Linked DNA regions of Homo sapiens: regions 2, 3, 4, 5 and 6 are each linked to region 1. Evidence: promoter capture Hi-C in 16 types of primary human blood cells and fetal thymus (Javierre and others, 2016). All regions are on one chromosome and are shown on one strand. Each heading gives the region's core, a stretch centred on a gene start or on the middle of the fragment in contact. The rest is flanking DNA. Distances are from core to core; before and after follow the strand shown.

Region 1 (4,572 bases), core at 1,247-3,746:
AGGTATGATTCTTATCTATTTCAAGGGAAATACAGTAAAATCTCAAAAGAAAATATTTCCTTTGAGATTTACTAAAGAAATTCTGAACCATTATGAAAGTAGTGTTTGCAATGACCTAGAATGCAAGGAGCCAGATCTACTGAGTTGAAAGGTGAATAATCATCAATTCAGCTTAGCAGATGCTTTTAGGACAGCTTCTAGACCAAAGCTTTGCTTGCACATGGAGGGAATGTATTTCTAACTAATAATCATCTTAGGGAAAAATAAATGGTAGTATTTACCTGCACTTACAAATATTAAAAATTCGGATTATAAACCCAAAGGTCTTTAGGTTAAAAGTTGCTACAAGAAACCAAGATTTAAACACACGTAGTTACTTTCCAACAAGCAAAAACAGTTTAATGTCACTACATTTTGCCCTTTTTTACCTACATCCTGGCTTACTTCACTGAGTTTCACCTAAAATGATAGTGCCTACCTAATATGGTTGTTCGGGCGACTAAGATAAAAAAAAAATAATTTAACTAACCCCACAGTAGCTATTATTACTATTCTACAGACAAATACATCAAAGGAAATTCCAGTCTTCAAAGCTTTAAACTTTAAAGTCACTGCTTAAAAGTAACTGATCTGCCAACACTAGAGTTTACCAGGAAGTAGCACTTTTTAATTAATAATGTTTTATGTATAAGTGACTGCCAGAAAACAAATCATCTTAATAAATTTTAGAGTCTTATATAATAAAATACAAACAAATTGATAAACTAAACAAGTACTGAATTTCAATTTGGAAGACACATTTCCTTTAAAGGAAATATATTTTTTAAATGACATAAAAATCACTTTGGATTCACTATTTCCTATATTCTCGGCTAACAAATACTCCCTTAAATTTCAAAATTTGTTGTCTAACAAGTTTCTTCTCCAAAACATACGGGTCCTTTAAAATAATCTGCTTAAAAACTCTTCTAGGTAATAAGAACTGAAACTAACACATGAAAACCCAAGTGTCAGGAACTGTTCTGGGCCCTAGGCACTGCTCATGTTTTATTCATCTTTGTGTGGGTGGCTGGCTAGTTTAGCGAAGAATTTAGCAAATAAATCAACAAATATTGGTGAATAAATTAGTCATCAAAACGAGGCAGATGATTTGGCTAATTCAAATGAATGTTCTTACATTATTGCTCAGATTTAGAACAAATCCCAAATATCCCAATCTTGAAAATTACTGTTTTTTTTTGTTTGCAAGGGAAAAGGAGAAAAAGAGATCTATTTTTGTATCTAGTTCCTGAAACTAAAGCTAAAAACAGATTAGTATTCAAAAAAAATCACGTAGTGGAAATCATAACTTCCAACTTATTAGAAAACTCCTAGAGTCTCAGGGATTTTTTTCCTCCCAATTTTTTCTCTATCAACACGGTGTCTCATGAAAAGGAAACAGTCACAAGCCACTGCTCCTTCTAGTATCAGGTATTAATTTCAGTAAGACGACTTTAATAATTCAGAAATATCGACTCAAACAAAACAATGTGTGTGGTGCTGCCTAAGAACCGACCTAGCGATGCATGGTCGTGGTCATTACTTTGGGAATTGAGTACGCTAGGGTTTGGGAAGACAAAACGCAGTGTGAGGCATCAATGAAAGCACATCGCAGGGGGAGGGGAGAGGAAGGAAAGATCAGAGAGGATTAATGACTGCATTACTGGTGGGAGGGGAGGAGGTAGACGAGGACCCCGTGCAAGGGGAGTGGAAAGGTTCATTTTGCAGTGACCGTGGACTGGGGAGTGGGAGGAGGGGCAACTATCAGCAGGAATCTCCCCCCGTGGATGGGTCCGTCACTTACGCAGCGGCTTCTAGAAAGAGAAAATGTGCCTCAGGTCAATCTCAAAGAGCAACTGCGACGGGAAGGGGGAGTGACCCTCCTAGGTGTGAGGGGAAATACAGGGTCACTTCCCAATAGACTTAAGGAGATGTTGCCCTAGGTCCTCCTCGGTCATCGTGGGACAGAGGCGATTGTGGTGAGGACCCCCAGAGCCGCGTGAGGGGCATAAGAGACCCAGAGCTGAGGTGTGGGCGTTACCTGCAGGGTCACCTCCTGGGGGTCCCAGTGAGGCCGCAGGTGTTGCAGGAGGCTCAGGGCCCCCTCCCGGCAGCGATGCTCCTCCTGATCCTGAACGGTGACGTTCAGCTTGGGCACCTCCGGGGAGCCGGGAGGGACGTGGATGTAATTGGCCATGGCCCAGGCGACGGCGGAGACTACCACCACGACGACGGCGACGGCGACCACGAGAACGGCGGGCGCCGACAGACTGGTGGATCCTTCCGTCCCGGGGCGCCCTCGCGGGAGGGCTGGGGGCGCTGGGACGGGCGGGCGAGCGGCAGGAGAACGTCTGGAGGCGGCACTGTTGCCGATCCGGGTCTGGACAGCAGCTGAACTGAGCCCGGCCCGCTCTCGGAGAAAATTCCTGTTGTCGGAGCTGGACCGCGGGCGGCCGCAGAGCATGCCGGGGCTGGCCTGACGCTGGCGTCACGCGCGGGGCGGGTCCTGCGCTGCGTCAGGGTGCCGAGGCGGGGTTTCTCGCCTCCGGTCACAATGGGACCTCTGTACCGCGCTGGGCTTGTTGGCCTGCGATTAGCACACACCCATCCCTGGGAACTGCTAGTCTGGAAAGCGGGGCTGCTTCTCCGGGATGAGCCCGAGCCCTGCCAAGCCCCTCAAGGCATTGAAGCTTTAGCTCACCTTATCCGAATGGTCATTGGGCATCTGGACTTGAGTTAACGACTGAATTTTTCTGGGAAGCAAGGGACACGTTCTAAAATAACCCCAGGATCACTCTCCGAACTTGGCCTGAGTCTAGGCAAGCAGTGTTACTCGGTCGCCTTGATCTTGGAGCTGCTGTGTACTGGGGACCTCATACTAGTTGGGTTAACTATATTCCCATTAGCAGTACGCGGGATCGCAGTACTCGGGACAAGCTGAGTTCAGGTATTTGGGTAAGACAACTGCAACACTTCAGAGGTTATTTGTGGAGTAAGATGTTCGACCATACAGTGAATAATTCGAAGCTAGGGAGAACAGATTAGAGTCTGGTATGAAGAAGAAAGGGAAGGAAAGGAATAGTTTTGAAGCTCAGCGCTAGAACGACTCGATGTCCATGCCAGGGTACCCCGAGTGGGCCTTGAAATCTTGCGTCTCAGTGCCTTACAGGGAATGGTAGAAACTGGAAAATCTACAAGTAAAGTATTGGGACCTCCTAATTTTCCTTTTAGATGGAGGAAAACGGGCTGGGATTCCCTGCAGCACTTAGCACACGGTGAATACGTTTGTTAGTAGTAAATAAAACCCTTAACTGGACTGAGTTTAATTAACATTCAAAATGTTTAATTACTTCACTAGCATTAAGTTTACATCCTGATTGTTCAGAAAGAACCTACTTACCTTTGTAATTAACAAAATAATTACTTCACCGATAACGGTAAACTTCCTAAACTAAAAAGAGGGGTGGAAATGGAGCTTTATAATACAGCAAAGAAGTTGATTTAACATTTTTCAAATTTAGTGGTTTTTTTGTTTGTTTTTTGTTTCTGTTTTTTTTTGTTTTGTTTTTGAGACGGAGCCTCACTCTGTCGCCCAGGCTGGAGTGCAATGGCGCGATCTTGGCCCACTGCAACCTCCGCCTCCCGGGTTTAAGGGATTCTCCTGCTTCAGCCTCTCGAGTAGCTGGGATTACCGGCGCGTGCCACCACGCCCAGCAAATTTTTGTATCTTTAGTAGAGATGGGTTTCACCATGTTGGCCAGGCTGGTCTCGAACTCCTGACCTCAGGTGATCCACCCACCTCGGCCTCGCAAAGTGCTGGGATTACAGGCGTGAGCCACCGCGCCCTGCCAGATTTAGGCATAATTTTCTACAAGAAACATTAGAGTGTGTGTTCCTTCCACTTTGGGGAGAAATCATAAATATACTACTACTTTCACATTTCAGATAGTATCTCTTGTATTTTTGTATAAATTGTATTTTTTATTAAGCAGTTGACATTTTAAGAATTTTAAAACTATGTAACTGTAAAACAATTTAATTGAAAATTATGTTGCAAACTGCACTAGTTTGTAATGGTAAATAAGAGTCCATTAACAAGTAGAAGAAAAGAAAAAAAAACTATTAGGTACCTGAGAACAAAAGTAACCGAAAATGTACAGGATCCATGGATAAAATTAATGGAGAAATGAACCATATTCATAAATGAGAAAAGATTAATGTAAAGGCCTCAATTTTCCCTGAACTAATCAGTACATATAATGCAATTCCAGTTAAAATCTCAAAAGGGTTTTTTTACTGAACTTGTTAAAATGACATTGAAATTCATATCAAAACTTAAGGTCCAAGAAAAGCGCTGTAATTGGGGAGAGGAGGATAGGGACAGGTAAGATCAGGGAATATATTGGGAGGACCAACCCTACCAGGATGTATTATATATTGGTTTAGGTATGGGCAAATAAACTACTAGAACATAATAAAGTCCCAGAACAAAACCTACACACATATGAGAACTTTGTATATAACAAAAGTAGC
Region 2 (4,572 bases), core at 906-3,405, 990 kb after region 1:
TAATTAGTTATATAGTTAAATTGACCCTGTGAATAAATTACCCACACGAACTGGTAAAGTGTTTTGGAAATTGTATTTTTTTTTTTTTTTTTAGCAATTCTTGGGTATTCCAAGCATCTTGCCTTTTAATGGTCTCTAACTATTACCCAGGACCTCATAAGTTGGCTACCACCTGAAATTTCTTCCTAACTAAAAGTCTTTAAGCAACTTAAAATTTCATAGAAAGTAATCCATTAAGAACCACAATTAAAAGCAATTTAATTTGAAGACTCATATATCAAAATTTATTAAAGTGTATTTAAATAGAGCAGTGTTCAATAAAATACGTATATAATAAAATTAAATAAGTACTTGTTACTTACAAATATCTAATTTTCTCATAGTGTATGTTTGCATATTCTATGTATAAAACCTAATTCAAAACATAAGTATTGGGGAAATGTGGACCTGTAAGTGATGAAAATTAGATTAGGGAATGAGTTCAGGCCTATCAAGTTTTCTACAATTCTTTCTGTTGGAACATCGGACCTTTGATTATTCTCTTTTTTCCCCCCTTTAGAGATTAGTTCTTGCTCTGTCACCCAGGCTGGAGAGTAGTACCGCTGTCATAGCTCACTGAAGCTTCAAACTCCTGGGCTCAAACAGTCCTCCCACCTCAGCCTCCTGTCTTTGATCATTTTTACTTACAGTTTCATGTCTTAATCTCGATGCTTTGTTGTTCTGGCAGGGGATGTATGGCATTGAGAATGAAGTCTTCCTGAGCCTTCCATGTATCCTCAATGCCCGGGGATTAACCAGCGTTATCAACCAGAAGCTAAAGGATGATGAGGTTGCTCAGCTCAAGAAAAGTGCAGATACCCTGTGGGACATCCAGAAGGACCTAAAAGACCTGTGACTAGTGAGCTCTAGGCTGTAGAAATTTAAAAACTACAATGTGATTAACTCGAGCCTTTAGTTTTCATCCATGTACATGGATCACAGTTTGCTTTGATCTTCTTCAATATGTGAATTTGGGCTCACAGAATCAAAGCCTATGCTTGGTTTAATGCTTGCAATCTGAGCTCTTGAACAAATAAAATTAACTATTGTAGTGTGCTTCTGTTTCTGGGATTCCTTCCTTAATGATTCCTGAAAGATTTCAGTCAGTCTGCCAAGTCATTCTTACCACACGTCATAAATGTCCCTAAATTCCAACATCATCTACACTCCTCCCTCTGGATGAGACAAAAATTCTTTTTTGCAACAGGTGCCACGGTTTGTTGTTGTTGTCCTGAGAATATGATTATCTTTTTAAGGTTATAACTGAAGAAGTTGTAACGGATGTCAATGTATATGACATTTACAAAGGAAGCCCGTTTTAAAAGGAAGAACCCCTAAAATGGAAACTTTGTTAGAATTCTATTTAATAATGAAGGAAAATGAAAGTTTGGTCTGGATTATTCAGATTGAGTCTACTTGGAGATAGCATAACATGTGAATTTACAGGGAAACTTAGGTAGACTTCCTTTAACAAAGAGTTCCAAATTTACATGTCATATGTAGGGGTCAATTTAGGTAGTGTTTAAAACATGAGTTTTGGTGTCATATAAACCTGGACTTGAGTGCTGGCCTTATCGTTGATTAACTGTGATCTTAGTCAAGTTAACTACTTAATCACTCCTAATTCTCATTTTCCTCACCTATAAAACAGTGATGATAACAACACCTCTTCAATATGGGTTGTTTAAATGAGAAAATTATGTAAAACTCTTAGCACATAGCTTGGTCATCATGGTAGCTAACATTTAAGTAGTGCTTACTGTTCCAAGTGCTTCATAGATGTTAACTTAGCTAAATCATCCCAACTATCCTATAAGGTAGTGTTTCTTCACCTCAACACTATTGACCTTTTGGGTTGAATGTTTCTATGTAGTGGGGGCTGAACTGCGCATTGTAGGCTGTTTAGCAGCATCTACCCAACCAATGCCAGTCACACACCGCTGCCGACAAGGTGTAGCCAAACATGTCTGCAGACCTTGCCAAATATCCCCTGGGAAGGGGTGAGGAGAATCACCCTTGATTGAGAACCACTGCTCTAAAGTATGTATCCTCATTTTACAGATGAGGAAACTGAGACATAAAGAGGCACACAGGTAATAGCCACCAAATAACAGAATCAGGATTCAACCTAGGCAATTAGCTTTAAAATCCTTTCTCTTTGCTGGGCGCAGTGGCTCATGCCTGTAATCCCAGCACTTTGGGAGGCAGAGGTGGGTGGATCAAGAGGTCAAGAGATCGAGACCATCCTGGCCAACATGTGAAACCCCATCTCTAATAGAATTACAAAAATGAGCTGGGCGTGGGGGCATGCCCCTGTAGTCCCAGCTACTCGGGAGGCTAAGGAGAATCTCTCGAACCCAGGAGACAAAGGTTGCAGTGAGCTGAGATTGCACCATTGCACTCCAGCCTGGCAACAGAGCGAGACCCCGTCTTGGGGGGAAAAAAATCCTTTCTCTTAAGCACAGTGTACTATAATGCAGAAAAACTTACTGTCAAATTTTTGTATCTTCTTAGAATAATATTGAAATTTTTTAATGCTCCAGCATATTATGAGGGTGCTATTATTTCTATATTACAGAATGGGAGATGGATACAGTTATTAAATTCCTTTTTTATATCATATTTCCAAAGTTACTGTCTAGATGTAAGGAGGAGGGTTAATTTAATATATGCTTCTATTTCATTGTTTCAGTTTCTACGTGAATGTTGAATTTGCAATAAGCCAATAGTTTCCAACCTTGAATTTCATGGATCAGTTTAGAATTATTTAAACTGTTTAAAAGGGGGAATAGACGTGTGTAGGTTAAGAAGCACAAACACAACTTTGCCAACTTTTCATTTTGCCAAATAAGCACATGGAGAAAAAACTACCATTTTCTACTATCATACAAAAGAAAAGACATTTTAATGCCAAAATAATGGGAAGACCACAGTCTCAAATGTATCAGCTATCTTGGACCATGGACAGAAATGCAGAACCTTGGGATGGCAGAGCCAAGAGCTGGAAGAAGGCTGGGCTTTCAGTTTGCATGCAGCTGCCTGTACCAGCTATTGACTGCCTGCCTCCTAATTGCTTTTTATATTAGGAGGAAATAAACTGCTATCACTGTTATTTTAGGTATCTGTCTCAGCTAACCAATTAATTCTAAATGATATACTCCCAACTATATGGCACAGTACCTGTTAGATAACTTTTTATCTAATTGAGGGCATGTACTTGAACGATAAATAACAAAATAAGATGCTATAAAATCAAGAAAAAAAAGACTTGAATCCTCACACATTCAGTTGGAACACTTGTATTTTCTTACCGTCTGGGGAAACGTGAAAAATGGAATTAATAACATTCCTTAGGAATAGAGCAGACGCCTAGTAACACCTGGCTAGTCAATACATGGATCCAGATATTCCATGGGTCAATATCCAAAATGCAAAAACGATGTACTGAATGAGACAGACACTGATAGTTTATCCATGAAGGTACTTTGATCTCATATGATTTTAGAAGCGGAAGTGACTTTTGTCCAAGTTATTTTACAGAAGAGAAATTGATACCCAAGTACTTTTGTGGATCTATTGCTGAGTATTCCTGCAAAGTGGCTAAAACAAAGAAAGGTGGAATTTAGTGGTGCAACTAGCTGAAAAGCTTAGGAATGGAACTGACATTAACCAACACCGTATTCAAGGATAAAACAATCGATGTCATCAGAAGTATGCAGTTTTTCTCCAACTCTAACTTTTTTCCTCTGTACATTTATTTAATTCTCAGGTTCTATATAGTAGCAACTTGTCTATAGCAATTCCAGAATTGTATCTTCTCTTGTTCAGATCTAATAGAATACTGTCCTCTGCTTTCCTAGAAACTCCAGAAAATATCTCACTGCATCTTACTGGCTCTGACTGAATAAGATGTACATCATTGAACCTATGTCAATGGCCTGAGCAATGCATTGCTCTCATTGATAGATGACTTGTTTTTTCTGGAGCCAATGCCCATGAATTGAGAGTGGTGGAAGGGATGAAACCCACAAGAAAGTAAAGGCATTTCCAGACATTGAAGGGGAAATAGAAGTGGGTGATTTTTAAAGACAGATAGATAGATAGATAGATAGATAGATAGATAGATAGATAGATGTCATCTCTCATGGCTGAGCTGGAACTGGAATTCTCAAATCCTGACACCAAATCAGTAGTCTTTTCTACGACCTGTTTTACTCCCTGGCATCAGTGTCTTCCAACAGCTATATAATAAACGCCTCCAGTTGTATCTGAGTTCTGACACAGTGAAGTGTTTTTAGGTGTAATGTGGACCTTTCAAGGGAAAATCTCTATCTTTTCCATTCTAGTATCTGGCTCAACCTGATTCCTGTTATTATTGGAGCTCCCACATAGAAATACTAGTCATTGCATTAGAAAACTGAGAGATGAATAGAAAGCAGGAATTCTTATCCCATTTTGGAACAAAGAGGTCTCTATGAGTAAAATTAAGCAGACAATTATTAGAGGAAGCCATAACACATTAAATTAGCCAGT
Region 3 (4,572 bases), core at 865-3,364, 950 kb after region 1:
GAAATTGTGTAAGGTCTTTGATGTTGTTCCAAATATCAGTTCCTTCCCTGGAATTTTGTGGCCTAAGCCTCAGAGCAGTATTCAAATGGCTGTTATTTTGTATTGTTTCTTAAATATCTAGAAAATATGTGAAATACAGGGTCAGGCTCTGTTGACAATGCACAGGAATCGTTCAAAAGGCTTACATTATATGCTTGGCCTAGAAACAAACAGAACAGTTTGCCACATTTTCCTAACAGTTAAAACCTCTTGCAAACTATTCCACATTCAGCATTTCTCTCTGCTCTGCAACACTCATCCCTCAGTCCTGTTTAGCAAACCATATACCTTCTGTGATCATCACTGTTGTTCCCACTTCCATCCATTACACTCATTCTCCCATTTAAAAAAATTTCTTGCTTTACTCTTTTTCAATCCATGTACACACCTTGCTTCAAAATACTTTTTACGAAACATTCCCTAGGCATCATTCCTTGACTGCTTCTGTGTTCTTCTTTTGCAACTGTGTATTTTCTTGGAATGTATAAAATCAATTTTCCCATAATGTACATGTTGTATATGTTTATCTTGCAATTTTCAGTTGAACATGTGTCATAAGTATAGGTAAGCAAGAAGGAAGATTTTACCAAAGAAGAGAAAGTTGTCAGTTCATTAAGACAAAGTCCATTATGTTTTCTTTTCTGTATGGTATCTCTCAGAATTAAACTCATCCATTGTATTATTTTCTTCCTGTCAGTTTCATTGCCAGAGTCATAATAAACTTGAAATGCTCTGACATAATTAACTAGCTGGGGAAAGGAAGAACATAACTGTCAGTTAATTTAGGAAATGACTATGCTTATCATTGCTCAGATAATGTGTTTGTGTCTCACACACATTCTCATTTCCCTTTCCTTGTAGGTACATCGTGACAGGCAGAAAAAATCAATCTTCTGTTAGAAATAGTTCTGTAACTTATTTTTCAAACAAACTAAAAGGACTTTAAAAAAACAGCATTGAAAGAAACTAAGTGTGGTTTAGGAAGAAAGGAAATACATTTCTAACCCAATTTATGCAGTATAGTTTTCCCCCAAGATTACCTACTTACTTTCAAATACATGCTAACAGGCTGTGTTTATACAGCCCACACATAGATGAGGAAAGCTTACACAGTAAACTCCCCAGCTTCTGGGAGGACTTTGTGGCTCAGTAAAAATGACAGAAGGATTCCATGGAATGATATAGCTCTATATCCTAAACACCTTTAATCCAAGGGTTTATATGAATTTGTACAATAGCTACTAGGTATAAAAATAGTGTAGTCTATGCGTCCTGGAATAATCAACCAATATGAAGCCACCAGAAATGTATTCAGCTGGTAAATGTATTACCCTTCAGATGGGTAAAGTGTTTCTCATGCATTGGCAGTGGAATGCTCAATGTTTGGGAATGGCTGGAATAAATAAGAGGTTTTTTTAATCCTTCCAGAGTTATCTGTATTTTAAAAGTTTATAACTAATGAAGTGTCCATGTCTTGAGTTTGTGTGCACACGCACATGTGTGTGTGTGAGAGAGAGAAAGAAAGCAAGAAAGAGAGAGAGGGAAAGAGAAAGAAAGAAAGAGAGAGAGAGAGATCCTTTTTGGGAAACCACTGATGAGGCTATCTGGACTCTCACCCTGGGAAAATGTCCACATGCATATACGCACAATTTTATATAAAATTCAGAGGTTTTATGGGTTTACTCAAAGGTTAGAAAGACTTACATCAATTGACATGACTTTAGGCAGTGCAAAAGTTAAACTAAAACTCTTCAGGAAATAAAAATATTAGGCACATAAGACATTCCCTGGTTTAAACACATAACACACACACCCACCACACACACACAGCCAGAGTTCTTGAATTCAGTTAGGAAGATGACGCATCTAAAGTCATCATTAGCTACCTCACACAAGCTCTGACAACTCCAAATTGCTCCTCTCCCTAGTTTACAGTTCGGCATTCCAGATCTCAGTGTTTTTGCTCCTGCTCACCTCCTCTCTCTCCTAATTCAGCTCCACCTTAAGAGCACAGACCCTGTCTTTCAGAAAGCCTCACCTGGCTGCCTAAACCCTTTCTGTTCACAGCAAGGCCAGATGCCCCAGATATCGCCTGCACAATAACACATCATTTCATGTTGAAACCGGAAAAGTTCCCTTGTCCCCCATGCAGGGCATGAGATGGGGGTGTGGCTCACTTTTTCAGGTGCTCTTTTATTTTAGCCATCTGTAGGCAGCCTGCGTTAGCTCAATTAGACTCCCTGCCTTATCTCAAGGACAGAAGGCTTTCTGTACCCTGGGGTTTCTTGCCTTGGTGTACCCGAAGAATTGGATCTCACGTGGGCTTGGAGAATGAATGCAAGGTTTTATTGAGTGGAAGTAGCTCTCAGCAGATGGGGGAGCCAGAAGGGAGACAGAGTAGGAAGATGGTTTTCCTGTTGGAGTCAGGTCACTCAGCAGCCGGGCTCTCCTCTGACCACCCCGTCCAAACCCCACGTTGTTCCACCTGTCGATGGCCTGCTGGTGCCTGTCGATGTGCTCTCGACGTCCAGCTGCTTGTGTGTTCCTCCGCCAGTGTGCTCCTCTTGACGTCCAGCTGCTTGTGTCTCTGCCTGGTAGGGTCTCAGGGGGTTTTATAGGCACAGGATGGGGACGTGGCCGGCCAGGGTGGTCTTGGGAAATGCAACATTTGGGCAGGAAAACATAAATGCCTGTCCTCACCTAGGTCTGTGGGCGCAGGCCTGGGGATGGAACCCTAGCCGGGAACGGAACCCTAGCCGGGGACCATAGCCCTCCTCTACCTAGCACTTCCCTGCTGGCCTTCCGTATCAATAGGGCCTCTAAACTGTGAGCGATTTGAGTACAGGAACTCTGAGTTATTTAATTCTGTGTCCTCAGATCTTAACTCAGTGCCTGGCACTGAGAAATGTTTTTGAATGAATAACAGTGCACATATGCGTGTGATACATGCACTCAGTATTTAAATTCAGGTGGCTTAAAGTTCACAACCCTTGACTTTGTGTTCAAGAGAACTTGAAACAATACCACAGCCTTTGAACAAGCTTGTTTAAAAGGAGCAAGTACTCATGAATAAATTATCTTCTGTCTCACTTTCAGCAAAGTATACTTTGAAAGGAAATGGGCCAGTTCCCTTATAGGTGAGTTCTCAAGTGGTCAGTTTTTGGTATGTGAATTTTTATGATAAATATTTCCCTTTCCTTTTCATTACACTATTATCGTTGTATAAAGAAGTGTACCTGTCTGTGGCATAAAATTTAAAAGATATCAAAAGATAAACAACACAAAGTAACCTTTCTTCCTCCCCAGAAGCAACCATTTGTAGTATTCATTAACCTTTCACACAGAGTCTAGGCATATTAAAAAATAAATGACATCTTTTGTTACATTTTAAGACATACATTCAGAGAAATATTTCTCAATATTTGACAGCTGCCATAAGGAAGAAATAGCATGTAGAGGTGCTTCTTCAGAGACAGGCTGAGTCTAAGGTGCCTGTAAGGATTCCAGGCAAATGTATCCAGAAGATAGCTAAAATAGAGGTCTGAGACTCAGGAGAAAAGGTCAGGTGGTAGCCATCAAGGGTAACAAACTGTTGATGCCACTGGAATGGTGTAATAGCTCAAGCACCATAGACTGTGGGTGAGATGCTGGCATCACACTAAATCCTAGGAACCACCAATATTTAGGACAGATGCAAGAAGAGCTAATAACCAAACCCAGGAAGTCTAAGTTAGGGTCACCCTAACGGCAGATTTAATAGCAGTAGATTTTCAAAATCAAAGGAAGAGAAAATTTTACACTCTACTCTTTAAATTACACTGATATGCACTAAAAAGGCCAGTATTGTGAATACTGAAAAGAGAAAGTATCAGTAGTTCAGTGAGATGAAAAAAAAAAGTATCCATCAAATACCTATTGACGATTACTGTGTGCTAGGAATGTGGGAATATAATAGGGAATGGTACTGTCCTTTTACAGGTTCGAATTTCTGTGAAATTGTAAGTCTGCAGGCATGCCCTAAGATGATCTTTCTTCCACATGGCTGGTGGAACATTCAAAGTGGAGAGATCAGTCTCAGGTTGCCCTGATGTGAATCATCCACTTACACTTAGGAAGATTTTGAAAGCCTTGTAAACATGTATTTTCTAACCTGTTCAAACTTGGGTCTAGGAAGAGAGGTCAGGAATGCATCAAGGTAAACATGCAAAACATATCAAAGAATAGGAGGAAGAGAAGGAGGAGGGGGAGAAGGAGCATTGCCAACGGGTCTGAGGCTTCCATGTTCTCATATCATCTTCATTCATTGGTCTGTTTAACAAAAAAGGAAGCCATTGTAAAGATATAGAAAAACCGAAACATTTTTCCTACTCTCTACTGTCCACAACACAATCCACATGGAACACTTCTGTGACCTCTGGTCTGGTCTCCAAAATGTGTGAGGATTTCTCTTAACCAGCAATGAAGCAATTCTGACACCAGGTATGTGTAGATTTTCCCCACGCCACAAGCAAACAAGCAACTCTGCAGCAGAAA
Region 4 (4,572 bases), core at 958-3,457, 930 kb after region 1:
ACATAAATCAAAATATGGGGTAGGGAGGATTTCTAACTTTGCAGAAACAAAGTTCAGCCAATAGATACAATTACTATTACTAAATAGTACACTTAATGCTTCAGTCTGAAGGTACAGTCAATCCTCCATAGCCATGGGTTCCAATGTCTCAGATTCAACCAACCTCAGATTGAAAATATTGTGGACAAAAATATAAAAAATAACAATACAATAATAAAATAATACAAATTTTTAAAACAACATAGTATAACAACTATGTATACATCATTTACATGATATTAAGTATTATAAGTAATCTAGAGATGATTTAAAATATACAAGAGGATGTGCACAGTTGTATGCAAATACTATGCCATTTTGTATAAGGGACTTGAGCATCCACAGATTTTGTTATCCACAAGGGGTGGAGGGTACTGGAACCAACCCCCTTTAGCTACTAGGGAAGAACTGTACTGCATTTTGGTTCCTTCACTGGATTTCAGAGCTTCTCATCCAACATTAGCATTGGGAAACTCCTGGATGAAAGGGAACATCTCCCATAAAAACAAATTCCTGTACCACCATTGCAAGATAGAAAGTGATTACTACTCCCCACATGAAAAATTCTCCAACTTCACCACATCAAAGTCAGGAAGCTATTGAGCATTCAACATTCTAGAATAAGGCAACCCAAAGCTTTCATTGAACAAATATGGTTTGATTGCACAGGTTTGTCAAAGTGCCATGTGGTTTTTGAGTTCCTAAACACCACAATGTCCCCAAGCAAATTTTTAAAACACAAGTTATTCCTTCAGGATGCCAAGATTCCATAGGAACATTATCCTCTATTTCAAAAATAAAGTATAAAGCTATTTGAAAATAAAATATCAATCAGTCAATGCCGAAACTGTAGGAAAGACTGAATGTTGCCTGCCTTTGGAAATCTGTGTCATTCCAGAACATAAAGGCCAATTACCATATCTGCTCAGAAATATATATCAGAAATATATATCAGAGTTGGAAGCTCTTTAGTGGAGATGGATCTTAGAGGCCCCTTTAAGACATAGGCTTTTAGAAACCTTCTATATTAAAGCATGCTCTTACATCCTTCCAATCCTATAACAGAATAAACGTTTCAAAGCACCGACCTGTTAATTACCTTATTTAATCTTCACTATGTTGCATTCATTTGTAATGTTGTTTCTTATTCAATTAAGTAAAGAAGCTTAACTTCTAGATGCATATTATGTGTTTTAAAAGGCTGCAAAAAGCATAAGAATAAAAAATTATTTTCCCCATTAGCTTATCATCAGGAAAATTCCAGACCAAAGAAAGGCATGGAAGTGGATGGTTATGGAGTAAACTTCTGGAAGAAACAAATGTGGAAGACACAGCTTTTCCTCTTTGTAACTTAAGCCAGAATCAACCTACTTTTATCCAGGGGGTAAACTGAGAGAGAAAGAAAACTCTCTATTGACTATTGCGTGCATGCCAAAAGATCATAGACTTTATCTCAATGAACCCCATATAGGCGTTATTATCCCCATTTTATAGATCATGATAAAAACATGCCCACAGCCATATGTGTGGTCTTTGAAAGTACACCATCAAACCCAGACCTATTGATTATAATTATAAGGCCTCTTTTCCTTTCCATGGTATCTCACTGACAAAACCTGTGTTGCCTGGTCTGTGACCACGTCTTGGTTAACTGAAGGAGAACAGAAAATTGTCCTTTTCAGCTGAAACTAAAACCAGATCAACTGACGACTCCAAGATGTTAAAAAATGGTCCAGATAATCCTGACTAAAAATACAATGGACAAACAACTTTATCAATTTCAGACTATTTTTCCCGGTCTCTTGAATTTTGCATGTGAATGTTTCATTTAAAAACAGCCTCATCAAGCAAAGTTTAAAGAAGTGTGTCCAAAAAAATTATAGGTTTTTCCCCCAATCTTTAGAAGATTTTCATTGCTATTGCTACGAAATACAAAAAGTTAAACAAAAAATTTTGTTTTCCAAGCTGAAACATGTATTTGTAAATCCAGGATAGTTAAACAAGAAAACTATTCTTGCAGAAAATATCTGAAAAATGAAATAAGCAATATTAAGACAAACTGAGTAAGGAAGTGGTGATTAAGTGGAGTAAAGACCGAGGTCATGTACATCTGTGCTGTGTAAGGGCCCACTTCATTTTTTGATAACTTCACTTTTTCACCCTTAACAGGGTTAACCCTAGAATGTGACAAGGGTAGCCTATGACAGGCGACATTTTGAAGTCACATTTATACAACCTCTACCCCAAACCCAAAGACCTCTCTCTCTCTGACACAAACACACACGGAAATTTATATACTTTTAATATACACAACCCAAGGTAGTCTTTTACAATTTACCAGAGTCATTTATTACTTAGTGGCATTCCAGCTCTCACACAAAATCACGATATTTCCTGTGCTTCCCTCCATGCACGTTTTGTTCACTTCTTTGCACAAGGGAACTGTGACTCTAGCATGCTGACTTGTCGTAGAAAATAAAGTGGGAATTTTTGGCCATCACTTTTAATTTAGAGCTACTGGTTCATTTCTAGAATAACATTAAACAAGAGAACGATTAAAAAAAAAAAAAAAAGAGAAAGAAATGAATGAATAGGTTATCACTGCCATCTGGTGGTGAAAATGCAAGAAAACAGGATATACATTCTGATAGCTCAAAATAGAATTAGTTTGGGAAAAGCATTGTTTTATAAAATGTCAAAAAATGTTCAGAAGTTTAATTAAGAAATGATTATCAAATGTTTGTGTTACTGATATGACTCAGAGTAGTCGCAATACGGAATATATGATCTCTTCTGATTCACATTTTTTTTTTCTCAATTTCCAGGAACATAGAGGTGTTCCTACTTTTCAGGCCCAAGAACCATAGAAAAAGTTAAATGATCATTGCATCCGTTTCACCTCCCCATGGCACTCCTCCTTCACAGTTGTTATTTCAAGAGAACTAAGTATTTACAATCATGCTATGTGGTGGGCACAGCATACAAAACGGACATCTCATCACCTGCTTGCCTCTATCAGGCTCTGAAGGTGTCTTTCCTAGGAAGTTGTCAACATAATTAAATCAGACAAACTTCAAGATACCATTGCTTTTGACAGTGTGGAGTTTCAACATGACAGACTTTGACTCTGCAGGGGGATTCCACAGCAGCTCCCATCATATCTAAGCTTCTATTACACCCAAGCTTCTATCACACACTAAGCAATGTGATCTCACATTACACAGCATACTAAACTCTCTATATAGGAAATCAAACTTTCTTACGTTGCACACACACACACACCATTTGTTTGTTTCTGCTTTCAAGTCTTTATGCTTTCTTTTATTTTCACTTGTATTGCCTATCATATTATCCTCTTCAACTACCCAGGTCCTTGCCAAACGTAAAAATTCACTGACTTGAAAATGCCTCAAAGGTTATCTATATATTACTTTTTAGGGTTTGCTTTCTATATGTCAGACACTGTTTCAATCATTTTATGCACATATTAGTATTTCCAAATTCTCAAAAAAACTTTGGAGAATTATTATTCCTATTTAAGCGTGGAGAAAACTTGGCTCAGAGCAATGAATAACTCATCTAAGTCTGCACTGGGAGTGAGTGGAGAAACCAAGTTTTGAAGCAAGGTCAGTCTAATTTAAAGGTTAAACTCATTCCTTCCTTGCTCATCATTCTAACAGGGCTTTAGTACACACACATATATGATGTAAGAACAATACATATATGTTCTTACATCCCTTTCCTGTGCAATATGATCCATTCCTCTCAAGAAAGTATGAATGACATTTCCTTTAGCAACTCCAGAGAACCCTCATTAGCTAATGAAGTGGTCTCTTGGTTAACAGTGTGGATTTCAAAATCAGAAAGCATTCTACCACTAGCAACTTTACAGTATTGCAAAAGTACTAGGCTTCAGATCTTCAGTTTTGCCCCTTTGAAATACTAATAAACCTTTTTGAAAATTAGGTGAGATAATCCATGAAAAGAGCTTAACTAGCATCATGCCTGTGACATGTTAAGCACTCAATAAAAGTTGGCGTTTATTATTTCAGTCTCTTTTATATACTGGATATTCAATGCAGATTGATGATTAACTGTTTTCAGCGATATGAAAAGGCCTTTATGAAAGGAAAAGAGCTCTTCAGAATATTGGATGACTCTGAATGGTGACTCTAGAATAACAGGGCAAGACTCTATATGGGCTGTAGAATCAATCATATGAGAGATCTGGGTAGAACATCTTCACATATTGGAAAATGTAGGGGACACCACGCTCCTGGGGTTTCTAGGCTGGCAGTGAACACATGGAAAATTCTAAATGTGAAAATGACAGCTTTGTCAGTTTGCTCCTCGAGGCCTGCCAAAGACTGCCACAGTCCCTGTCCATCTCTAGTAAATCACAGTAACTAATTCAGCTCCTACACCAAATTTGGCTTCTTCTATGACTTTTCCTAACATAAAAACACACAAAAAAGAATAGCAGCACAAAAACCACATAAGTCCCAGAAATCATTTCCAGATGAAATTTTATAT
Region 5 (4,572 bases), core at 818-3,317, 560 kb after region 1:
GTCCCAGTTTAACAGTTTGATCAGCAGTGTTTGTTAAAAGAGTTCCTATTTCCCTACAATCATACCCATTTGGAGGATGTGCTTTGTCATTTCTTTAAAAATAAGTAAATAATTAATTCCTGGTCCATTTTACTATGGGTGAATAAAAAGATACCAACCAAGATATGCCACTTCTTTCCAGCACAGGCCCATTTCTTTTCTCCATTCATCTACAACTGCTAGCTTGTCTGATACACTGACTTCCATTTTGCAATCCAGTTTTAAAGAAGACAGCGTCTGCTTTGAACAGGCCCTTTCTGAGATTAGCCTCACCTTAAAAAAAAAAAAAAAAAGGATTGGAGGAAGAAGGGAAAAATTAAAAAGTGAAGAAAACAGAAATCTTTCATAATAATTGACCTTGTAGACAGTCCAAATCACAAACGAGTCATCTTTTGACTTTCTGAAGGTCCAAGTAAGAAAACTGACTGTCGAATTAAAATCATGATGCTTTAAAACAAAGCTCATTTTATTTCTCATAGCCCAATAAAGGTGAGACACAGTATTTTATTTTCTACAATAGAAAGGATTCTATCTACAGGTAAAAATTACAACATATATTGTCTGATACTACTCTAAGATTCTCCTATAATTCAATTTATCCAGAGGAAAGTCTATAACCTCTCTCTTGTGCTGCTTAGCAATACATATTTAGGATTTCTGGTAAATTATAATTATCTTAGCTAGCTTTCATTTAAAAAAATACACTTAAACGTTAAGTTATTTTGAATCAAAAATGTCATTCATAAGAATAAGCTAGATTTTAAAAATCCACAGGATATCGTCCTTTTCTAAAATGGTACACCTATTATCTAGGGAATCTTTCTTGCTGCAAGATCCTTTGGGAAACATTAGATAGCTCCCATTTAAAAGTAGTTATGTTTATATTTACTGAATAAACAAGAAATATTATTTGCTGATTAACAAATTCCTAATTCTACTCATCTAAAACTAAATAGTATAATAATTTTCTAGGCGTATGAAGGCCAAATTTCAGATATTTTAAGAGTTAATACTAAAAATTTAAATCTCTTAATTCCTTGCATGTTCTTTGACCCTGAATCAAAATATTATAAAATACTGCTATATTCAGGGAGCACATACCTCAATACCACTTTTCTTTAATAAACTTATCCCAATAGCATCTTTTACATCATAAGATATTATTTCTTTTTGGTCTCCTGATACATAAATGTGGCCATTGGTGAGACATCCATCAATATTGCAAACCAAAAGTTTTATTTCCTTAAGCTTCTCTTTGCCAAAATAGCCATATCTAAAAGAAACCAAAATAGACCTTTGAGTACAAGTGCAGTACTAATCACTCCCTCTCATCTGGCTAAACCAATACATGAAATGTCACCCTCCATTCAATTATTCAAACATTACTCTCCAAATTTACTTCACATATATATTTTAACATATAGTACAGTAAGTAAAAGTAGTGTGGTCTAGCCAGATAATGTTTCTCACTTTATTGAAGCCATGTAAACACATATTTTACATGTCTTCCTCACATGAACAAAGTAATTACAAAGATCCTAAGATGTCTGAAGTATCAGAAATCAGTATCTAGAAATATAATTATTAAGATTTAGTACAAAGGTTATAAAGGTTTATTTGTTTTTACCTTAATACTCTTTGCTCTGCAATAGGCCAATCAATATCCACATCTATATCCACACTATGTTCAGCTCGCATTTCGTAGTATGCCATTTTTCCACCCTAAAGGTAGTATAAATGTCATGAATACTGTTTTTAATATTCATTCACATATATCAAAACTTTATTATAATACAGAACAATGAATTCATTTCTACAGTACTGAGAAAAATGAATAACCCAGTAAAAATCAGTCACATAAAAATGATTTTTAAATTTATTTTTACTTTTTTATTTTTTCGAGTCAGGGTTTCACTCTGCCTCCCAGGCTGGAGTGCAATGGTGCAATCATAGCTCATTATAACCTTGAAATCTTAGGCTCAAGCAATCCTCCCACCTCAGCCTCCTAAGGATCTGGTACTACAGGTATACAGCACCATGTCCGGCTAAATTTTTAAAAAGTTTTTTGTAGATATAAGATCTTGCTATGTTGCCAAGGCTGGTCTTGGAAACCTGGCCTCAAGCTATCCTCTTGAGGCCTCAAGCTGGCCTCTCAAAGTGCTGGGATGACATGCTTCAGCCACCACGCCCAGCTTTTTTTTTTTTTTTTTTTTTTTTTTTAAGGAGAAAGCTCACACAAAAGAAATAACCTTAACATTTTTCAAATTCTATCTAAACAGTTCAAGTTCCCTATTTAAGAAAATTTCTATTTTAATATTGAAAAAAGCAGAAATATTACATCCTCCAGGTTTCTGACCACAAGGGATTTTGTGGAAATCCCTTAATCATATCCTCCTTTTTTTCAAGAAGTCTCTCCTGTCATCATCCAAAAGCAGTATTAAGGTTTTTGGAACTTCTGTTCTAATTTGCAACTAACAGGCAACACAGGGGAGGAAAAATAACTGTAGCATCTGTTGTACAGAGTTTTCTTAGATCTCTGAGCTACTGATGAAAATGACTAATAGTCATCCAAGTCACATGCAGGCAAAGGCAAGGGCAGTCTCTTGATTCTAGGCAAGGGTCAGCAAGAGAAAGGGTCTTTCTTCTGATAGTAATTATTTGAATGACAAGATCAATTACTGGACAATTTCAATTTCATTTTTTTTTTCAGAATTGTCAGTCTCTTCATAAACCTTGTTTTAATGAGAAACATTTTTCTCCACACTTTAGGAATGGGTTAATCATGGTCCTCCTTAGAAAAAAGCTTAAAAATGGTAGTATCTATGTGTGTCAAATCCAATTTTTCTGAACACTTAAATTTAACTAAACAGCTAGTCTATAGTTTGCCTACACATTGACCAGAAGATTTGTAAAAATGTTTTTCTCTCTTTTGCTCAGAATAATAGTCCCATTAGAATTTTTATTACACAATGGAGAGGTTTCTCTCTCTCTCTTTAAAACCGCTATTTCTTGAGTAACATAAGAACCTGAATCCAAATCCTGACAGTACCATTTATTAGCTGTTTTTGCCTTGAGTCAATTACTTCATATTTCAGTGAGGCAGTTTTCCTCCTCTGTAAAACTGGGTAGAAATGTCCACTTCATTCATTCGCTATGCAGATTACATAAGATAACATATGCAAAGTGTTTCACCTACTCCGAAGTACACAGTAAATAATAAATAATAATGATAACTAAAATTAACAAGTTAAGAAATATATGATGCAACCATGTTGCAGGCTCTAAAATGAGAGAGACATTAAATCTGTTATTTGAAAATGAGAGTCAGGACAGATAAAATGATACATATTCAAGCTTACATAGTAAGAGGCAGTTGACTTAAAGTATAATAAAAAAAAAAAAAAATATATATATATATATATATAAAAAGATTCCGGGTTTCCTGACACCCAGGTTGTAACTCTTTTCACCTCTATGAAATTATTTGTCTTTTTAAAGCAATAGAAGTTATTCAACCCTACAGCCACAATATAACTATAACACAAACATGGATTACGTAGTTTTGAGTGGAATAATATGAGTACCAGGACATGTGTAGACACCCAGTACTTGATTCATTTTTTTATCGTTGTAGCAGAATTCCTTGCATATTTACTGAATGGATTCCAAAGATCACTTTGGGGTAAACCTGCAGGATAAATGCCTCAGATAGCAAATGTTGTTGGCTATTACCTTTCCTCTATAGGTTGATACTTTTCTTTATCATAAAGAAATTGTACCATACTTCTTCCCTAGAACTCAAAGTATGCCTACAAAAGCGCTTAAAAGGGTTATGCAAAATGAAGGTACAAACCTGCAAGTAACCCATCTCTATCAAATGTCTTTTAGCAAAATAAAATGAGCCATTTTCATATAATTCTCCATCCCAGTCTTGTCGACGAGGCCGTTTAGCTGGATTTAAATTCAGAGGTTCGGTCACTTCACGAACTAAAAGCAAAAAGTTAGAGTAAGTCCACGTTGCCCTGAATATAGAAAGTGTTAATTTAGTAACTAAAAAAGTTAATAAAAATGAACTCAGAATGCAGAGCATTTCTTTATCTAGATAAAGAACTTTTCTTTTTTTTTTTTTGAGACAGAGTCTCGCTCTGTCACCCAGGCTGGAGTGCAATGGTGCGATCTTGGCTCACTGCAACCTCCGCCTCCTGGGTTCAAGCGATTCTCCTGCCTCAGCCTCCCAAGTAGCTGGGACTACAGGCATGCACCACCACACCTGGCTAATTTTTGTATTTTTAGTGGAGATGGGGTTTCACCATGTTGTCCGGGCTGGTCTCGAACTCCTGACCTCGTGATCCGCCCACCTCGGCCTCCCAAAGTGCTGGAATTACAGGCATGAGGCACTGCACCCGGCCTGATAAAGAACTTTTTTTAGGCTGAATGTGGTGATTCACGCCTGTAATCCCAGCACTGTGGAGGCCAAGGCGGGCGGATCACTTGAGGTCAGGAGTTCGAGAGCAGCCCAGCCAACATAGTGAA
Region 6 (4,572 bases), core at 842-3,341, 520 kb after region 1:
CTCTGTAACTCCCTGGGCAGAGCTCCCCATGGTAGGGGCAGGTTGCCATGGTGGCTGTCTTGCAGCCCTTGCCCTTGGTGTCTCCAGGCTCTGGAGAGTCTGTGAGGATCAGGGACTGGTCCAGATCCCCAGCACAGAGCAACAACCCCATGGAAAAATGGTCAGATTGTTCCCCATACAGGTCCCAGTCCTCACTTCTCACTGGGCAGGGCTATCCAACCCCCAACACAACCACCCTGACCCTGCCTGATCACTTCAATCAGAGCCAGCTCAGCACTTCTCCCAGGAGGAAATCGCAGAGCCAACCCACAAACCCTCCTTCGCTGCAGCTGCAGTGGTACAGTTCCAACAGCCCTCGTGCTTGGGAAGGAACAAGGGGCTTAGTCATTATGCTGGCACTTCCAGCACACCACAGCCACGCTATAGAGAGGAGCCCAGCCCCTCTTCCAGGGGAATCCCCACCCCACACTCTTCACCAGGCAGGGCCCCTGGCTCATGACTGCAGAACAGCCACTCCACCCATGGCTGAACATATCCACTGGTAGTGGCCTGAGGAGAGGCTTGTAGAGACATGTTACAGCCCCTTCGTCACTGGTTCTATCCCTGCTGCCCTCAGTCTGAAGAAGAAACAAAGAACCTGAGGGCTACATCTGAGCTTACAGCATGCCACAGTCATATGGAGAGGAAACCAGTCTCTCCTCCCAGTGAACCATTGACCCCCTGCTGCCAAACAAGCAGAGCCCCAAGCTCATGTGCCAGCACTGCACCTGCCCCTCCCCACTGGCTGAACACTCCCAATAAGAGCAGCTCTGCTTCACAGAGGTGGAACCCCCAGGGGCAACCAAAAGCCTCTCTGCCACTGCCTCTGCAGTGGTATTACCCCTGCCACTCTCAGAGTAACAAAGGCAGAAGCAGTGGCAGAGAGGCTTTGGTTGCCCCTGGGGGTTCCACCTACAAGAAAGATGGAGTGCAGGAAAGGGAACTCCAGGCTTGGGCCCACAGCACAGACCCATCCTAGGCTGATTGCACTGAGCGATTGCTGACCTGCATTTCTCTGGGGTGGAGCCCCTAGGATACAAATAAAAGACCATCGGCTACAACCACTGCTAAGGTTCCTTCCTCTGCTGCCTCTAAGTTGGGGAGGAAACATAAACCTTGAGTTCACCCCAGAGCTCTGGTGGACAGCCTGGGAGTGCCAAGCCGCAATTTACAGCCAGCGCTCAAGTGGAAGAGGGGCCCTTGATTTCAGAGCATTGAGAGGGAACATGGCTGCAACTGTGAGGAAATACAGGGGAACCACACAACTGAGCAAGAGCCTACCAACTGACCACTATGCCTAAGCGCCACCTACTGGATCATACCCCAAAGCTTCAACACCAAAAATGTCTAGGTAACATACTCCCCTGTAAAACCAAAGACAAGAAGTTAGCCACAAATAAAAACCCTGCACAAAGCTTCAGCCCTGTGAAAACATCCAGAAAAGAAGTCTATTGACTATACTCAATCTACGCTGCAGTTAAAGGAACACCCACATGCAGAGATGAGAAAGAAGGCAATACAAGAACTCCAGTAACTCAATGGCCAGAGTGCCATATGTCCTCCAAATGACCACACTAATTTTCCAACAAGGATTCTTAACCAGACTGATCTGGCTGAAATGACAAAAATAGAATTCAGAATATAGGAAAAACAAAGATAATTAAAATTAAAATTCAGGAGGATGGCAAACCCCAATCCAAGGAAAATAAGAACCACAATAAAACTATACAGGAGCTGACAGACAAAATAGCCAGCATAAAAAAGAACCTAACTGATCTGACAGAGCTGAAAAACACACTACAAGAATTTCACAATGCAGTTGCAAGTGTTAACAGCAGAATACACCAAGCTGAGGAAAGAATCTCAGAACTTTTTTTTTTTTTTTTTTTTTTTTGAGACGGAGTCTCGCTCTGTCGCCCAGGCCGGACTGCGGACTGCAGTGGCGCAATCTCGGCTCACTGCAAGCTCCACTTCCCGGGTTCACGCCATTCTCCTGCCTCAGCCTCCCGAGTAGCTGGGACTACAGGCACCCGCCACCGCGCCCGGCTAATTTTTTGTATTTTTAGTAGAGACGGGGTTTCACCTTGTTAGCCAGGATGGTCTCGATCTCCTGACCTCATGATCCACCCGCCTCGGCCTCCCAAAGTGCTGGGATTACAGGCGTGAGCCACCGCGCCCGGCCAGAATCTCAGAACTTGAAGACTGGTTCTCTGAAATAGGACAGTCAGGCAAAAATTAAAAGAAAATAAAAAGGAATTAATAAACCTCCAAGAAATGTGGGATTATGTAAACATGCCAAATATAAAAATGATTGGCATCCTGAAAAGGGATGGGGAGGAAGCAGACAACATGGAAAACATATTTCAGGATATCATCCATGAAAATGTCCCCAACCTCACTATAGAGGCTGAGAGTCAAATTCTGGAAATACAGAGAGCCTTGCAAGATTCTATACAAGAAGATCATCCCCAAAAAACACAGTCAGATTTTCCAAGGTTGAAATGAAAAAATGTTAAAGGCAGCTAGAGAGAAAGAGCATGTCACCTACAAAGGGAACCCCATCAGGCTAACAGCAGACCTCTCAGCAGAAACACTACAAGCCAGTAGAGATTGGGGGCCTATATTCAACATTCTTAAGGAAAAAATAATCTTCAACCAAGCATATTATATCCAGCCAAACTAAGCTTCTTCTAAGTAAAAAAGAAAGAAGAACCTTTTCAGATAAGCAAATGCTGAGGGAGTTCATTGCCACCAGATGTGTCTAAGAAGAGATCTTGAAAGGAGCACTAAATATGGAAAAGAAAGACCATTACCAGCCAATAGAAAAACACACTTAAGGACACAGACCAATGACACTATACAGCAACCACACAAACAAGCTGGCACAATAACCAGATAACAACACAATGACAAGATCAAATTCACACATATCAGTACTAACCTTGAAGGTAAACAGGCTAAATGCCCCATTTAAAAGGCTCAGAATGGTCAGCTGGATAATAAAGCAAAACCCAGATATGCTGTCTTCAAGAGACCCATCTCATACACGATGACACCCATAGGCTCAAAATAAAGGGATAGAGGAAAATATACCAAGCAAATGGAAACCAGCAAAAAGCATGAGTTGTAATCTTAATTTCAGGCAAAACAGACTTTAAACCAACAAAAATCAAAACAGACAAAGAAGGGCATTACGTAATCATAAAGGGTTCAATTCAACAAGAAGACTTAACTATCCTAAATATATATGCACCCAATACAGGAGCACTCAGATTCAAAAAGCAAGTTCTTAGAGGCCTACAAAGAGACTTAGACTTCCACACAATAATAGTGGAAAACTTCCTTACTCCACTGACAGTATCAGATAGATCATTGAGGCAGAAAATTAACAACAACATTTCAGGACCTGGACTCAATATTGGACCAATGGATCTGATAGACCTTTACAGAACTCTGTACCCAAAAACAAAATATACACTTTTCTCATCACCACATGGCACATATTCTAAAACTGGCCACACAGTTGGACATAAAACAATCCTCAGCAAATGCAAAGAAACTGAAATAATACCAAACACACTCTCAGACCACAGTACAAAATAGAAGTAAAGACTTAAAAATAAATCACTCAAAACCATGCAATTACATGGAAATTAACCTTCTCCTAAACAAGTTTTGGGTAAATAATGAAATTAAGTGAGAAATCAAGAAATTCTTTGAAACTAATGAGAACAAAGATACCAGAATCTCTGGGACACAGCTAAAGCAGCGTTAAGAGGGAAATTTATATCACTGAATGCCCATATCAAAAAGTTAGAAAGATCTCAAATTAACAACCTACCATTACAACTAAATAACTAGAGAAGCAAGAACAAACCAATCCCAAAACTAGCAGAAGAGAAGAAATAATGAAAATCGGAGCTGAACTGAAGGAGATTGAGACACAAAAAAACATTCAAAGGATCATCAAATCCAAGAGTAGGCTTTTTGAAAAAATTTAATAAGATTGGCCACTAGCTAGATTAATAAAGAAGAAAAGAGAGGAGGTCCAAATAAACATAATTAGAAATGACAAAGGGGATATTACCACGACCCCACAAAAATACAAATAACCATCAGAGACTGCTACAAACACCTCCATGCACACCAACTAGAAAGCCTAGAAGAGATTTATAAATTCCTGGACACATACACCCTCCTAAAACTGAACCAGGAAGAAGTTGATTCCCTGAGCAGACCAATAACAAGTCCCAAAATTGAATCTGTAATAAACAGCCTACTAACCAAAAAAGCCCAGGACCAGACAGATCCACAGCCAAATTCTACCAGATGTAGAAAGAAGTCTGGTACTGTTCCTACTAAAACTATTCCAAAATATTGAGGAGGAAGAATTCCTCCCTAACTCATTCTGTGAGGCCAGTATCACCCTGATACCAAAACTTACCAGAGATCCAACAAAAAAAAGGAAATTTCAGGCCAATATGCCTAATGAACACGGATGTAAAAATCCTCAACAAAATACTTGCAAACCGA

What was found. The method cuts DNA at HindIII sites, captures the fragments that hold promoters and counts their contacts. A CHiCAGO score of 5 or more calls a contact.
Region 2: a fragment that was not itself captured here is called in contact with the fragment with the promoter of ETNK1 in region 1 in 1 of 17 cell types (activated CD4 T cells); the score reaches 5.1 in activated CD4 T cells.
Region 3: a fragment that was not itself captured here is called in contact with the fragment with the promoter of ETNK1 in region 1 in 5 of 17 cell types (activated CD4 T cells, total CD4 T cells, non-activated CD4 T cells and 2 more); the score reaches 16.1 in activated CD4 T cells.
Region 4: a fragment that was not itself captured here is called in contact with the fragment with the promoter of ETNK1 in region 1 in 3 of 17 cell types (naive CD4 T cells, total CD4 T cells and non-activated CD4 T cells); the score reaches 9.3 in naive CD4 T cells.
Region 5: a fragment that was not itself captured here is called in contact with the fragment with the promoter of ETNK1 in region 1 in 10 of 17 cell types (M0 macrophages, M1 macrophages, non-activated CD4 T cells and 7 more); the score reaches 10.9 in M0 macrophages.
Region 6: a fragment that was not itself captured here is called in contact with the fragment with the promoter of ETNK1 in region 1 in 1 of 17 cell types (megakaryocytes); the score reaches 5.9 in megakaryocytes.

What each region holds. Positions count from the first base shown.
Region 1 is chr12:22,623,095-22,627,666 of GRCh38, reverse strand. ETNK1 (ethanolamine kinase 1) reads right to left here and starts at 2,496. Exons shown (of 8, transcript NM_018638.5): 1 at 2,081-2,496. The coding sequence starts at 2,236. It overlaps ETNK1-DT (ETNK1 divergent transcript), which reads left to right and starts at 2,621. Exons shown (of 4, transcript NR_135030.1): 1 at 2,621-2,994. RefSeq lists enhancers at 1,373-2,062, 2,082-2,251, 2,782-2,851. The HindIII fragment of the contact is 2,136 bases long and covers 596-2,731 here.
Region 2 is chr12:21,631,865-21,636,436 of GRCh38, reverse strand. LDHB (lactate dehydrogenase B) reads left to right here. Exons shown (of 8, transcript NM_002300.8): 8 at 728-1,095. The coding sequence ends at 895. Among named protein-coding and RNA genes, the nearest start is that of LDHB, 24 kb to the left of the region's middle. The HindIII fragment of the contact is 3,064 bases long and covers 624-3,687 here.
Region 3 is chr12:21,675,413-21,679,984 of GRCh38, reverse strand. All of the region lies in intron 1 of KCNJ8-AS1 (KCNJ8 antisense RNA 1), which reads right to left. Among named protein-coding and RNA genes, the nearest start is that of KCNJ8-AS1, 15 kb to the right of the region's middle. The HindIII fragment of the contact is 1,937 bases long and covers 1,146-3,082 here.
Region 4 is chr12:21,696,094-21,700,665 of GRCh38, reverse strand. All of the region lies in intron 1 of KCNJ8-AS1 (KCNJ8 antisense RNA 1), which reads right to left. Among named protein-coding and RNA genes, the nearest start is that of KCNJ8-AS1, 36 kb to the right of the region's middle. The HindIII fragment of the contact is 2,001 bases long and covers 1,207-3,207 here.
Region 5 is chr12:22,058,021-22,062,592 of GRCh38, reverse strand. CMAS (cytidine monophosphate N-acetylneuraminic acid synthetase) reads right to left here. Exons shown (of 8, transcript NM_018686.6): 4 at 3,893-4,026; 5 at 1,667-1,761; 6 at 1,141-1,312; 7 at 159-312. Among named protein-coding and RNA genes, the nearest start is that of CMAS, 14 kb to the right of the region's middle. The HindIII fragment of the contact is 1,555 bases long and covers 1,290-2,844 here.
Region 6 is chr12:22,097,910-22,102,481 of GRCh38, reverse strand. No RefSeq gene overlaps it. Among named protein-coding and RNA genes, the nearest start is that of CMAS, 54 kb to the right of the region's middle. RefSeq lists an enhancer at 502-641. The HindIII fragment of the contact is 1,269 bases long and covers 1,457-2,725 here.